3 separate regions of the Homo sapiens genome follow, and regions 1 and 2 are each linked to region 3. Evidence: promoter capture Hi-C in human tissues and cell types (Jung and others, 2019). All regions are on one chromosome and are shown on one strand. Each heading gives the region's core, a stretch centred on a gene start or on the middle of the fragment in contact. The rest is flanking DNA. Distances are from core to core; before and after follow the strand shown.

Region 1 (4,464 bases), core at 1,239-3,738, 110 kb after region 3:
CCTGGGTGGTCAGCTGGGCCATGAGTGAGCTGCAGGCTCAACTCAAGAAGGTTCCAGGGCTGGGCACGGTGGCTCACGCCTGTAATCCCAGCACTATGCGAGGCCAAGGCGGGTGGATCACTTGAGGTCAGGAGTTTGAGACCAGCCTGAGCAACATGGCGAAACCTTGTCTCTACTAAAAATACAAAAATTAGCCTGGCGTGGTGGCAGGTGCCTGTAATCCCAGCTCCTCGGGTGGCTGAGGCAGGAGAATCATCTGAACCTGGGAGCTGGAGGTTGCAGTGAGCTGAGATCACGCCATTGCACTCCAGCCTGGGCGACAAAGCAAGACTCTGTCTCAAAAAAAAAAAAAAAAAAAAAAAAAAAAAAAAAAGAGAAAATCAGGGGTCATCCAAAGCTGCTTCTGCTGTATACCTGGAACCTTCTTTTTCTTCTTCTTCTTTTTTTTTTTTTTTGAGATGGAGTCTCACTCTGTCACCCAGGCTGGAGTGCAGTGGTGTGATCTCAGCTCACTGCAACCTCCGCCTCCCAGGTTCAAGCGAGTCTCCTGCCTCAGCCTCCAGAGTAGCTGTGATTATAGGCATGCGCCACCACACCTAGCTAATTTTTGTATTTTTAATTAAGACACTGTCTCGCTCTGTCACCCAGGCTGGAGTGCAGTGGCACCATCTTGGCTCACCTCCCAGTTTCAAGTGGTTCTCATGCCTCAGCCTCCCGAGTAGCTGGAATAACAGGTGCCCACCACCACGCCTGGATAATTTTTATACTTTTAGTAAAGACAGGGTTTCGCCATGTTGGCCAGGCTGGTCTCGAAATCCTGGCTTCAGGTGATCTGCCCACCTTGTCCTCCCAAAGTGCTAGGATTACAGGTGTGAGCCACCAGGCCCGGCCGACAATTATAATTTTTGTTTTCAAGGTGTCTCATTCTTTCTTCTTTCAGCCACCTGGTCTTGTTTGCAGTGTCCTGTTCTTGTTTCGTGGATACCATTTCTTTCTTTTTCTCTGAGGATCGTAATTTAATCCGTTATGTTTCTTCTATATTCTATATTTGTGGTTAACTGTATTTCAGGCAAACGTAAGTTATTCTGTTGTAACTGAGTGTCTTTATTTCATGGAGATTGGAATCCCTCAACTGGTGCTTAAGAATGAAAAGCTGGGTGCAGTGGCTCACACCTGTAATCCCAGTACTTTGGGAGGCTGAGGCAGCCAGGTCGCTTGAGGCCAGGAGTTTGAGACCAGTTAGGGCAACATAGCAAAACTTTTGTCTCTACAAAAACAAAAACAAAAACAAAAATTAGCTGGGTTTGGTGGTGCATGCCTGTAGTCCCAGCTACTTGAGAGGCTGAGGTGGGAGGATTATTTGAGCCCAGGAGGTGGAGGTTGCAGTAAGCCAAGATCACGCCACTGTACTCTAGCCTGAGTGACAGAGTGAGACGCCGTCTCAAACAAAATTGAAAATTTAAAAATGTCGCTCAATTCTTGCCGTGATCTTATATTTGCTATTCACTTTCTCTTGGCGAGGGACATTAACAGTTTGTGTTCTTGGATTCTATGTACCCTTTCAAGGGACCAAAGACCTCCTGGTCTCATTTATCCTTTGTGGTTGCCCAAATCCCTTTTCTACCCCAACCAACCCAGGTCCTCTTGAGAAAGCTTTCTCTTGTGTCTTGAGCTTCTGCACATGGGCTGGGCTGCCACTTCCTCTGTCAGCCTCTCGTGAGTCTTCATGGTTTCTGGTCCACAACCAGGGATCTCTCCTGCCTAATTTTTTTAGCATGGCTGTGGATTCCTGTCTTTCTTGTGCATACCTTTGCTCTTGTTTCTAAGGCCTGGTGGGTGAGGAAAAGATGGGAGAGACTGCTACATGTGCTTAGATTGCCATATTGAAACCAGAATCTGGAGAAAATGCTAGGAACTAATGAGAGGGCTCATGTTTAAGAATGTAAGAGTCGGCCAGGCACGGTGGCTCACGCCTGTCATCCCAGCACTTTGGGAGGCTGAGGTGGGCAGATCACTTAAGGTCAGGAGTTCAAGACCAGCCTGGCCAACATGGTGAAACCCCGTCTCTACTAAAAATACAAGAAATTAGCCGGGCGTGGTGATGCGTGCCTATAATCACAGCTACTTGGGAGGCTGAGGCAGGAGAATTGCTTGAACCTGGGAGGAGGAGGTTGCAGTGAGCCGAGATCACGCCATTGCACTCCAGCCTGGGCAACAGAGCAAAACTCTATCTCAAAAACAAAAACAAACAAAAAAACGATACACAGAACGTAAGGGTCAGGGTGAACTGGATATGGGAAGGTAAAAAATGGTGAGGCCGGACGAGTGACAGCAGATGAGCACTTTGGGAGCAATGCTGCAGCTACCAGTGAGATATATGGAGGCACCCGCGTGGCAGCCATACTGCCAGCCTAAGCAAGTGGTGACATTATCAAAGATCTACTGAGTTAAGAAGAGGAGGGGATGTTATTTATTTGGGTCACGTTTTGGCCTGCCAGAGGTAGGACTGAAAGACATCTTAGAGATCCTATAGTCCAACTGTCTTGGGTTTTGTTTTTTTTCCTCCACAGAAGAGGAAACAGGTTCTGAGATGTCAATGATCAGCCCCAGGTGCTCTGTGAGCTTGTGTGGAGAGAGGTCCTGGCTGTCCCAGCTCAGAGCTCCTTCTTGGGCCTCGTAGCACTGGTGTCTGGACTGGCTGCTGCCGACCCATCCTGAGGGTGTGTGTTGGTTTCCTAGGGTGACTCAGGAGGACCCCTGGTCTGCGAGGAGCCCTCTGGCCGGTTCTTTCTGGCTGGCATCGTGAGCTGGGGAATCGGGTGTGCGGAAGCCCGGCGTCCAGGGGTCTATGCCCGAGTCACCAGGCTACGTGACTGGATCCTGGAGGCCACCACCAAAGCCAGCATGCCTCTGGCCCCCACCATGGCTCCTGCCCCTGCCGCCCCCAGCACAGCCTGGCCCACCAGTCCTGAGAGCCCTGTGGTCAGCACCCCCACCAAATCGATGCAGGCCCTCAGTACCGTGCCTCTTGACTGGGTCACCGTTCCTAAGCTACAAGGTATTTTCGGGGCAGAAAGGTAGAAGATGATGTACGTGCCTATCTTGATTTAGGGAGAACGGATATCGTCATAGTATCTTCATAATTTTGGATCTTCCTGTTCAAGGAAAGGTCACATGTGTATCCGTTTATTCCCATCTTACGTTGCGTGTACCCTCATGGTATCTTTCTGTCCACAGGTCTTGCCCATGTCTTGTTAACTATGGCGATCTATCAATGGGATACTTTTTTTTTTTTTTGAGACGCAGTCTTGCTCCGTCGCCCAGGCTGGAGTGCAGTGGCGTGATCTCGGCTCACTGCAACCTCCGCCTCCCAGGTTCAAGTGATTCTCCTGCCTCAGCCTCCTGAACAGCCGGGATTACAGGCACAGGCCACCACACCCGGCTAATTTTTGTATTTTTAGTAGAGACGGGGTTTCCCCATGTTGGTCAGGCTGGCCTCGAACTCCTGACTTCATCATCTGCCCACCTCAGCCTCCCAAAATGCTGGGATGACAGGTGTGAGCCACCATGCCCGGTCTGGAATACTTTCTATTGTATTTTCAAATAGTTTGTACCCAGACAACTTGTAGGACTGGCAGGGTGCGGTGGCTCGTGCCTGTCATCGCACACTTTGGGAGGCAGAGGTGGGCAGATCGCTTGAGGTCAGGAGTTCAAGACCAGCCTGGCCAACATGGCAAAACCCCATCTATACTAAAAATTAGCTGGGCATGGTGGAGGGCACCTGTAATCCCAGCTACTTGGGAGGCTGAGGCAGGAGAATCGCTTGAACCCAGGAAGCGGAGGTTGCAGTGAGCTGATACGGTGACATGGTGCCACTGCACTCCAGCCCGGGCAACAAGAGCACAACTCCATCTCGAAAAAGAAAAAAGAAAACTTGTAGGACTATATCTCTGTTTCCAAAAACTGTTAGTTGCATTCCTATTTTTTTTTTTTTTTTTTTCTGAGACGGAGTTTCACTCTTGTCGCCCAGGCTGGAGTGCAGTGGTGTGATCTCGGCTCACTGCAACCTCCACCTCCCGGTTCAAGTGATTCTCCTGCCTCAGCCTCCTGAATAGCTGGGATTACAGGTGCCCATCACCATGCTTGGCTAATTTTTGTATTTTTAGTAGAGTTGGGGTTTCGCCATGTTGGCCAGGCTGGTCTCGAACTCCTGACCTCAGGTGATCTGCCCGCCTTGGCCTCCCAAAGTGCTGGGATAACAGGCATGAGCCACCGCGCCCGGCCATGCTTCATTTCAGTTCACCTACACCCCACACTCTGTTCCGAAACCCCCTAACAATCGTACCCTTCCTTTTCTCAGCCGCCCCATGGGTCTCCTGGAGTGCAGCCCCGTCTTTGCAAGGAGGCCATAAACCTGGCTTTGTGGGCTGCGGGTCTGTGGTGGGGTCTGTTGCGGGGGGTCCT
Region 2 (4,266 bases), core at 1,075-3,574, 96 kb before region 3:
GAGCCACAGTGGCCGCCCTGCCCGCTGGCGCTTCTGCAGCCTCAGACCTGCCTGCTTATTTGCCACCAAAGCTGAGAGGATGTTTGTCCGGGCGTCCTTTCCTTTTGGAGGGGGTCAGACAAGACCAGCATGCGGAGAACCCCGTACAGGAAGGGCTCTGTCACTGCCTGGATTTGTAGCCAGGGCTGGGCTCCAACCCGGCCTCAGAGCCTGGTACCCCTCGGGGGCCCTCTGTCCTTCCCACCATGCTTAGGGGGATGTGGGTCTTCCCTGGAGAGCAGGGAACGGCCCGAGGTGGCCGGCGCACCCTGTGTTCCCCTTCCCGTGGGTCGCGCCCTCCACTAACTCACATCAGAGAACTTGTGCATGGCGTCCCATGTGTGGGCCTCGGTGCCTTTCGAAGAGAGGAGAGAGGGCAGGGGAGGCTGTGGGCTGTGGCTTCTAGGTCCTGCTGCCTGAGGGGCTTCTCGTCTCCTGTCTTGGATGTGGTTCTTTTTCTCTGTGGCTCACAGTCTGGCTTCTTACTGACAGGCATCTGTGATTGTGGGAGTGGCTGTGAATGCCGTTATCCGTGCCCACGGGTCACGTCCTGGCCTGCGGGGCCCCAAGCAGCCCACTGCTGTCTCTGGGCCTCAGTTTCCTGATTTGTGCCACAGAGGACTTGCAGTGGACAGAGTTGGGCCCGTGGCCCCCTTGAGTCTGAGCTCCGCGTGCCTCTCGGTGCAGGAGGGCCGTGGGCAGCGCTGGGGCTTCCTGTGGCTCAACCTGCTCTCCTTCCAGGAGGAACAGGAGGCAGCCCGGCGCCGCCAGCAGCGCGAGAGCAAGAGCAACGCGGCCACGCCCACTAAGGGCCCAGAGGGCAAGGTGGCCGGCCCCGCCGACGCCCCCATGGTAAGGCCCCAGCCTGGCTCCTGCTGCTGGAGGGCACCCGCCCCCTGCCCGGGAGACCCCATGGGTGGGAGGCTCTGTGCCCATCCCTGTTCTTCCCTTGTGTCCTCCAGGACTCTGGTGCTGAGGAAGAGAAGGCGGGAGCAGCCACCGTGAAGAAGCCGTCTCCCTCCAAAGCCCGCAAGAAGAAGCTAAACAAGAAGGGGAGGAAGATGGCTGGCCGCAAGCGCGGGCGCCCCAAGAAGATGAACACTGCGAACCCCGAGCGGAAGCCCAAGAAGAACCAAACTGCACTGGATGCCCTGCACGCTCAGACCGTGTCTCAGACGGCGGCCTCCTCACCCCAGGGTGAGCCGCCCCCACGCCACGGCCCCCGCTCTCCCCGAGTGCGGATGCCTGGGGTCCCCTCTGCTGGGACGCTGCCCTCCTGAGCCCCGTGTGTTCAGGGTGTCCCTGGAGCCTCCCTGTTGTGGCTGTGCCTTCAGGGTGGCCCCATCCTAAGGGGTTGCTGGGCACCTGCCCCATGCTGACGCCTCTGCCCACCGCTCTCCCGACCCGCCCTGTGCTGACGCCTGCCCTCCGCTCTCCCAGATGCCTACAGATCCCCTCACAGCCCGTTCTACCAGCTACCTCCGAGCGTGCAGCGGCACTCCCCCAACCCGCTGCTGGTGGCGCCCACCCCGCCCGCGCTGCAGAAGCTTCTAGGTGAGCCCGTGTGAGGCGTCCGGCGAAGGGTTCTGGGCTTGGGGTCATCCCAGGAGGACCGTGGGTTGTGACGCTGACCTCGCAGCAGCCCCCGTGACCTCCATGCTGGACCCCACTGAAGTTTACCCAGGGTTGGGGTCTGCCTGCTGCAGGGGTCAGTAGAGGCTCAGATGCAGCCTGTGGGTTGTCTGAGGTCTTACCCAGGAGATGCTGGGTGACACTTGGGACGTCTGCAGTTGTCATAACTTAGGGATGTTGCTGGCATGGGGTGGGTGCAGGCCAGGGATGCTGCTCAGGGCCTTGCAGTGCCCAGGATGGCCCCACGCGGTGAACACTTGGCTGCGCAGGGGTCAGAGGGCCTGAGTGCTCTGCGAGCTTGGGGCGTGTGGCATGGGCCCCGCCAGGCTCTGCTGAGCTCCTGCCTCATGAGTGCCTGACACCTGCCGAGGCCTGGGACTCGTTCTCAAGGGCTGCTCCCACCTCTTCCCTCTCAGTCTCAGCTGCTCTCTTCTCACCTGTGTTCCGCCTCTCTTCCCAGAGTCCTTCAAGATCCAGTACCTGCAGTTCCTGGCATACACAAAGACCCCCCAGTACAAGGCCAGCCTGCAGGAGCTGCTGGGCCAGGAGAAGGTGGGTCCTGGCCCCCTTGGCATTCCGCCTTCCCGCACAGAGGCAGTTCGTTCCTGTTCCTGGGCATCTGTCCCCTGTGGCAGAGGCCCTGGAGCGCAGGCCTGAGTGGGCTCCCTCCTCTGCTCACCTGCTGCGAGAAACAAACCTACCCGTTTAAACCCAAAGAATGGACTGAGAGACCCGGAAAACAGCGAAAATGAGACTTTTAATCATGGTTTTGCAAGACCTGGTGTCTGATAGGCACACCCAGCACAGTTTGAACAAGCAACCTTCCCCCTAGTGCACAGGTCCCTCCCCCGGTTCCTCAAAGGCTGAGTACTGTGAGGTCACAGTCTTCCCAGTTGTCGCCTATTGGTTCGGCAGGGGCTGGAGTGCAGTGGTGTGATCTCGGCTCACTGCAAACTCCGCCTCCCGGGTTCACGCCATTCTCCTGCCTCAGCCTCCCAAGTAGCTGGGACTACAGGCACCCACCACCACATCCGGCTAATTTTTTGTATTTTTAGTAGAGACGGGGTCTCACTGTGTTGGCCAGGATGGTCTTGATCTCCTAATCTCGTGATCCTCCCGCCTCGGACTCCCAAAGTGCTGGGATTACAGGCATGAGCCACCACGCCCGGTTGTAGGTGTTTTCTTTAGGGTTGTCCTGCTGCATTTTGTGCATTGCAATCCCAGTCAGCTCAGGGACTGTTCAAGTATTTGACTTATGATCTAAGTAGCTGGGCAGGCTGATTAAGAACAGACAAAGCCAGCTCTTTTGCAGGCTGGTAAACCTTCATCTTAGGCTAAACTTCTTTGGTTCGGGTGAGGGCAACTAAGCCGGGGGAAGCGGGGGCAGGGGAGGCTGACAAGCAGGCATCAGCGATCCAAGCAGGGGCCTAGTACATGCTGTCTCTTCTGTAGTTTGCTGACCTAAGCCAATTCAAGGCAGTTTGTCCTGGAAATGGACCACTGTATACATGATTTCCTTCACCTGAGGTCCCGGCTGTGGGGCCCCGCCCTGGGAGTCTCCGAGGACCTGCTTTAGTGGGGAGCTAGGGCCGGGCTATGGGGTGGAAGTTCTGGCGGCCCAGAGATAACTCCAAAAGCCATTGGAGCCACAAGGTCGGCTGTCCCTGAGCCCTGGTTTGCATTTTGGACTTTGGCTTTGCTTTTAAAAAAAAGCTTACAGCGTGCTTTGAGCATATATGCACATGCATTGCTCACTGTGTAGCTGACAGCATGCCTGGGCCGGGGCCCTGTTCTCTGCTGGTGTCTGAAGGTTGTCCTGTGTCAGTGGCTCCTGGGGTCTTCCCTTGGAGGTGGGCCTCCGGACACTGAGTGTTTGCTGTTACGCTGCAGAAGGCTTCCTTGCAGATCCATGTGAAAAGTCCATCCCCTGGTATTGCCTTGGGATAAACTCCTTGGCATTGGCCGGCCTCTGCGTGGCTGGGGGCGCTGCCCTGGCTGAGTCCAGGTGGGGTGGCAGGTGCAGTCCCTCCAGCTGGCGAGAGTTCTTTGCAGTGAACCTGATGCAGAGCTGGTCCCCTCCCGCCGTGGCCTGAGTATTTCTTGACATCTCAGCCCGGTGTGGGTCCCCTCAGGCATGTCTGTCCTTGAGCGTGTCTTCAGGAAGCATGAGAGGCAGGGCGTGGGCCCTCCCTGTGGGCCCTCAGTCACCTGCCCTGGCCCTTAGTCACCTGCCCTGTTTGTCCTACAGGAGAAGAACGCCCAGCTCCTGGGTGCGGCTCAGCAGCTCCTCAGCCACTGCCAGGCCCAGAAGGAGGAGATCAGGAGGCTGTTTCAGCAAAAATTGGATGAGGTAGTGGACCCCAGAGGGCAGGTGGCAGGTGGCAGCTGGGGCGCAGGCTGGGGTGGTCCATGTCCGTCGGTATGGCTTCCTGTGGCTTCCTGTCTATGCCTCTGTCCAGCTGTGTCCCAGGGGCTGGGCTGCAGGGGTGGTCATGCCTGGGGGCTTACTTCACCTTGGAGGCCACCAGCATGACCTCTCCCCCGCCCCATGTCCCCAGCTGGGTGTGAAGGCGCTGACCTACAACGACCTGATTC
Region 3 (4,181 bases), core at 692-3,191:
CCCAGCTCACTGCACAACTTAGCTGCAGACAGTCAGCATTTGAACCTGGATCTGACGCCAGCTCCTACCCACAAAATCCCAGCTCCCCACTAGAGGGTGAAGGGCGCTCTTTGGAGGCCCGAGATTGACATGTGGTGGTGGGCGGCTTGATGGGGCCCACCCGGGGCCAACTTTGCTCGCAGAGTTCTTCAAGAGGCTCTACCTGGTGACGAGGTAGTGACTCAGGGGGCGCCGGGGAATGACAGTGCTGTGGGAAGAGACATCAAACTGCCTTCTATTCCCACTCAGCAAGGCACCTTCAGGTCCCGGCTTACCCTGGGGGTGGACGGCTGAGGCTGAGGGAGGCCAGGCAGGGCTGCTGCCGTAACCATCGTGACCTGAGCATCTGTTTTATGGTGGCACCACACTGCAGCCGAGGTGGGCAGCATCTCATTTAATCCCATGTGGGGTGGATCTGAGAGAGGGGACGTCATTTGCCGGAAGTCACCGGTGAAGACCAGACAGGCAGGGCAGGGAAGGCTGAGTTGAACCCTCCTAAGCCCCCATCCCACCGCCCGGCTGCCCCCTTCCTGCCACCCCACATCATCGAGATGGGGACAGGAGCTGGGTCTACAGGGGAAGCCCGTGGGTTCTTCCCACTCAGATCCTGTCTCCGACGATGGCTGCTGCTTCGGCTCAGAGAACAGCCAGGGTAAGGCCATGCCGCGGCAGCCCACCCCACACCAGCCTCCTGATAAAGCCAGCACCACCCTCCCTGAACCTGTTTCCAGCCTGCGTCCTCCACCTGACCACTCACACCTCACACCTTCTGCATCCTCTCCAGGCCACTTCCAGGGAGCCCTCCTGGGTTGCTCTGGTTCTCACAGCTCTGTTGTCCCTGAAGGCTCCCCCCAGCCAAGCCCCAGATCGTCCCTCTGCAAATACCACTGCACAGCAGACGCCCGCTCCCCACCCCCGCCGGAGCAAGGGTGTCTGCAGCCTCGCTGCGTCCATGGTTTAGCCAGGGACCGCTTGCTAAAATGCAGCTTCTGGGGCACATCGCCTCAGAAGTTCTGACTCCTCAGAACTGGGGGGGCCGGGACACCGGCACCGTTAGCGCCCCAAGCACACGTTGAGAAACCCAGTTACATGGTGGTCTCCAGCGTAAGGACCCGGGGCTTTTCTTGTGCCCGGACCAAGGCACGAGGTGCTGCTCCCCTAAACTTGTTGAATGGGACTCAGGGCCTCCCCTGGCCAGGCCCCAGAGGCCCGGGAGGTGGCGGCACCCACTCAGGGTGCCCAGGCCCACCATTTCTGGTGCTATTCAGACGCCCCCAGAGCAGGGGGACTCAGCCCTATGCCCCCAGGTCCCTCCCCGCCAGGCCGGGCCGTCAGCTCCAGCGATGGAGCAGGCTCCGGTGTGGACCCCAGATACCCTTTGCGTCTTCCAGCTCCGCACCCCCAGGCTGGACCAGACCCGGCTCGGGGGAGACAGGGCAGGAAGGCGCGGGCTGCAGGCTCTATTCGGACGTTCCCCACACCCCAGACCCAACCAGTGCCCCCTTCATCTCCTCCTGGAGAGGAGCGCATCCTCCCAGCGTCCCCAGTGCCCCGGGGAGATGCCCACCCGATTCCCCGCTCCTTGGCGCCCCAGAGGAGGGGCGGGGGGCCCCAGGGTGGGGAGTTCGCCCCCAAAGTTTCCAGGGGGAGCGTCGGGGGCCTGGCAAGGAGCGATGAGCCCGGGAGGGGTGCGCGGGGCAATTTCCCCCGGCTGAGGATGGGGTCGCGGGTTGGGGGCTTTGGGCGGCAGGGTCGCAGGGTGCAGGTGAGGGGTCCCCAGGTCTGCGGGCGCGCCCCACGCCGGGCCCCGGCACGGCCACTCACCTGGGCGGCTCCGCCGCGGACACGGCGCGGGCTGCGGCGCGGGGGCCGCCCGGAGCCGACACGAGCAGCCGCCGCCGCCGCCGCCGCCGCCGCCGCCGCCTCCCGGGCTCCGCCGTGCGCGCCGCCGCCGCGCGCAACCGCCCGCCGGTCTCCTCGGCGCGCCTGGCGGGGGCGCGCGGGGGCTGCGCTGGGCCGCGTGCGCGGCGGCTGGGGCCGCAGGTGTGAGAGGCCACGTGGGCGCAGGTGCGGGGACACTGGGAGCGCGGGTGCAGAACCCCTCCGTGCGCATCCCGGGCGCTTCGTGTCCGAGGACCTCCTGTCCCCACGGCCTGGGTGAGCCTGCGGAGACGGCCGTGCCGTGCAATAAACGCAGGGGCACCCCAAGTGCAGCAGGTTGTTCCGTGTGGAACCTTCTGGAAGCTACCATCGCCTCCTCTGCCCCCCGTCCCCCACCCCTAGTCCAGGCCGCCACCATCTGCACCTGGACATCTGCCACAGCCCAGCCCAGGCCCATTCCTTATGTGGCCCTCAGAGGAAGCCCCTCAGAGGAAGCTTAGCCACTGGGCTCCAGAACCTGCCGTGATTCCCTATTGCCGTGAGGGTCCCGTCTGCACCCCACCTACCCTGGAATTTCTCTTTCTTTCGTTCTTTCTTTCTTTCTTTCTTTCTTTTTTTTTTTGAGATGGAGTCTTGCTCTGTTGCCCAGGCTGGAGTACAGCGGTGCCATCTTGGCTCACTGCAACCTCCGCCTCCTGGGTTCAAGCGATTCTCCTGCCTCAGCCTCCCAAGTAGCTGGGATTACAGGCACCCGCCACCACGCCCGGCTAATTTTTGTATTTTTATTAGAGACGGATTTTCAGCATGTTGGCCAGGCTGGTCTCAAACCCCTGACCTCGGGTGATCCACCCACCTCGGCCTCCCAAAGTGCTGGGATGACAGGTGTGAGCCACCGCCCGGCTGCCTGCACTGTTTGGTCTGCCGCACCACCTCCTTCCCCCTGGCCTGTCCTCACTCACTCTTTCCCGGGCTCCACCCCCTCAGCCTTCCTCAAACAGGCCAAGTCCCTCCAGTCCCAGGCCTTTGATCTTCGCTGTGCCCAGCTTGGACAGCCTTTCTCTCTGTCCCTCCATCGAGCAGCTTGGAGCCTCTCAGTTTGTCTAATGGGCTTGTTCCCCAATGTGCCTTCCGCCTAGCACACAGCAGCGCACACACCAAGTGCACTGCGAGTGCTCATGGAAAGTTTTTTACCTTTTTTTTTGTCTTTTTTTTTTTTTTTTTTTTTTGAAATGGAGTTTTGCTCTCGTCACCCATTCTGGAGTGCAGTGGTGCAATCTTGGCTCACTGCAACTTCCACCTCCCGGGTTCAGGCGATTCTCCTGTCTCAGTCTCCCAAGTAGCTGGGATTACAGGCGCCCATGACCATGCCTGGCTAATTTTTGTATTTTTAGGGGAGATAGAGTTTCACCATGTTGGCCAGGCTGGTCTCGAACTCCTGACCTCAGGTGATCCACCCGCCTCGGCCTCCCAAAGTGCTGGGATGACAGACGTGAGCTACTATGCCCGGCCCCTCACTGCATCTTCTAAAAGCCACATTTAGCCTCCCTGTCTCACAGATGAGCAAACCAAGGCTGGGAGATGCCATTTGTCCCAAGTGAGGGGTGAGAAGGAGGCCTCGGGAACCTGTGTGTGTAACCTTGCCCTGTCTGCCCCCTTCACCCACTCTGCAGTCCTCCCCACCAGCTGTGTATTCCCAGTGGCTTTGGCGGTGGCCTGGCACTCACGCAGCCACCTGTGACTCAAGCAGGCTCTGTTCCCAGACTGTCGCGTTGGCTGGAGGCCCAGAAACCGCATCCCTGGGAGGCTGCAGGCCAGGCCCCCCACAGGATGCTGTGGGGGGCGGGTATGGTTCAATTCCTGGCCCCAGAGAGGTCCAGAAGGACTTCATGACACCCCATGCTCTCCCCACCAAATGGCCCTGGGCTGCTGTGCTGTGTGACCCCAGTAGGGGAGGTCTCCTTCTCTCTCTGAACGTGTTTCTTTCTCTGTAAAGTGATGCTCCTGATAGCTGGCTCTCAGGGCTCTTGGAGGAAGGTGTTCATTGAGCACCTACTGTATACCAGGCCAAGGGCTGGAGGGAGGAGGAGGAGACGCTTCCAGCCTCAAGGGGGATTTCTTCGGACAGAGGGAGCAGATGCCTGAAATATGAAATCGTCACAAAGCGGCGTGGAAGAGGCAGTAGTGACACCGGGTCCCGGACCGAAGCCAGGGGCCAGGGAGGCTTCCCGGAGGAGGAGACACTTGCTATGAGTCCTGGAGGG

What was found. Contacts are between HindIII fragments. The study calls those that stand out against the background at their distance.
Region 1: a fragment that was not itself captured here is called in contact with the fragment with the promoter of LINGO3 in region 3 in 6 of the 25 tissues and cell types used here (IMR-90 fibroblasts, dorsolateral prefrontal cortex, liver and 3 more).
Region 2: a fragment that was not itself captured here is called in contact with the fragment with the promoter of LINGO3 in region 3 in 4 of the 25 tissues and cell types used here (bladder, dorsolateral prefrontal cortex, spleen and 1 more).

What each region holds. Positions count from the first base shown.
Region 1 is chr19:2,410,961-2,415,424 of GRCh38, forward strand. It overlaps TMPRSS9 (transmembrane serine protease 9), which reads left to right. Exons shown (of 19, transcript NM_001395513.1): 11 at 2,740-3,058. Among named protein-coding and RNA genes, the nearest start is that of TIMM13, 14 kb to the right of the region's middle. The HindIII fragment of the contact is 6,937 bases long and covers 1-4,464 here.
Region 2 is chr19:2,209,620-2,213,885 of GRCh38, forward strand. DOT1L (DOT1 like histone lysine methyltransferase) reads left to right here. Exons shown (of 28, transcript NM_032482.3): 13 at 781-891; 14 at 1,002-1,236; 15 at 1,480-1,593; 16 at 2,132-2,223; 17 at 3,920-4,021; 18 at 4,230-4,266. DOT1L-AS1 (DOT1L antisense RNA 1) reads right to left here. Exons shown (of 2, transcript XR_007067087.1): 2 at 2,409-4,266. Among named protein-coding and RNA genes, the nearest start is that of DOT1L-AS1, 3.8 kb to the right of the region's middle. The HindIII fragment of the contact is 3,245 bases long and covers 703-3,947 here.
Region 3 is chr19:2,306,213-2,310,393 of GRCh38, forward strand. It overlaps LINGO3 (leucine rich repeat and Ig domain containing 3), which reads right to left and starts at 1,942. Exons shown (of 2, transcript NM_001101391.3): 1 at 1,864-1,942. The HindIII fragment of the contact is 18,961 bases long and covers 1-4,181 here.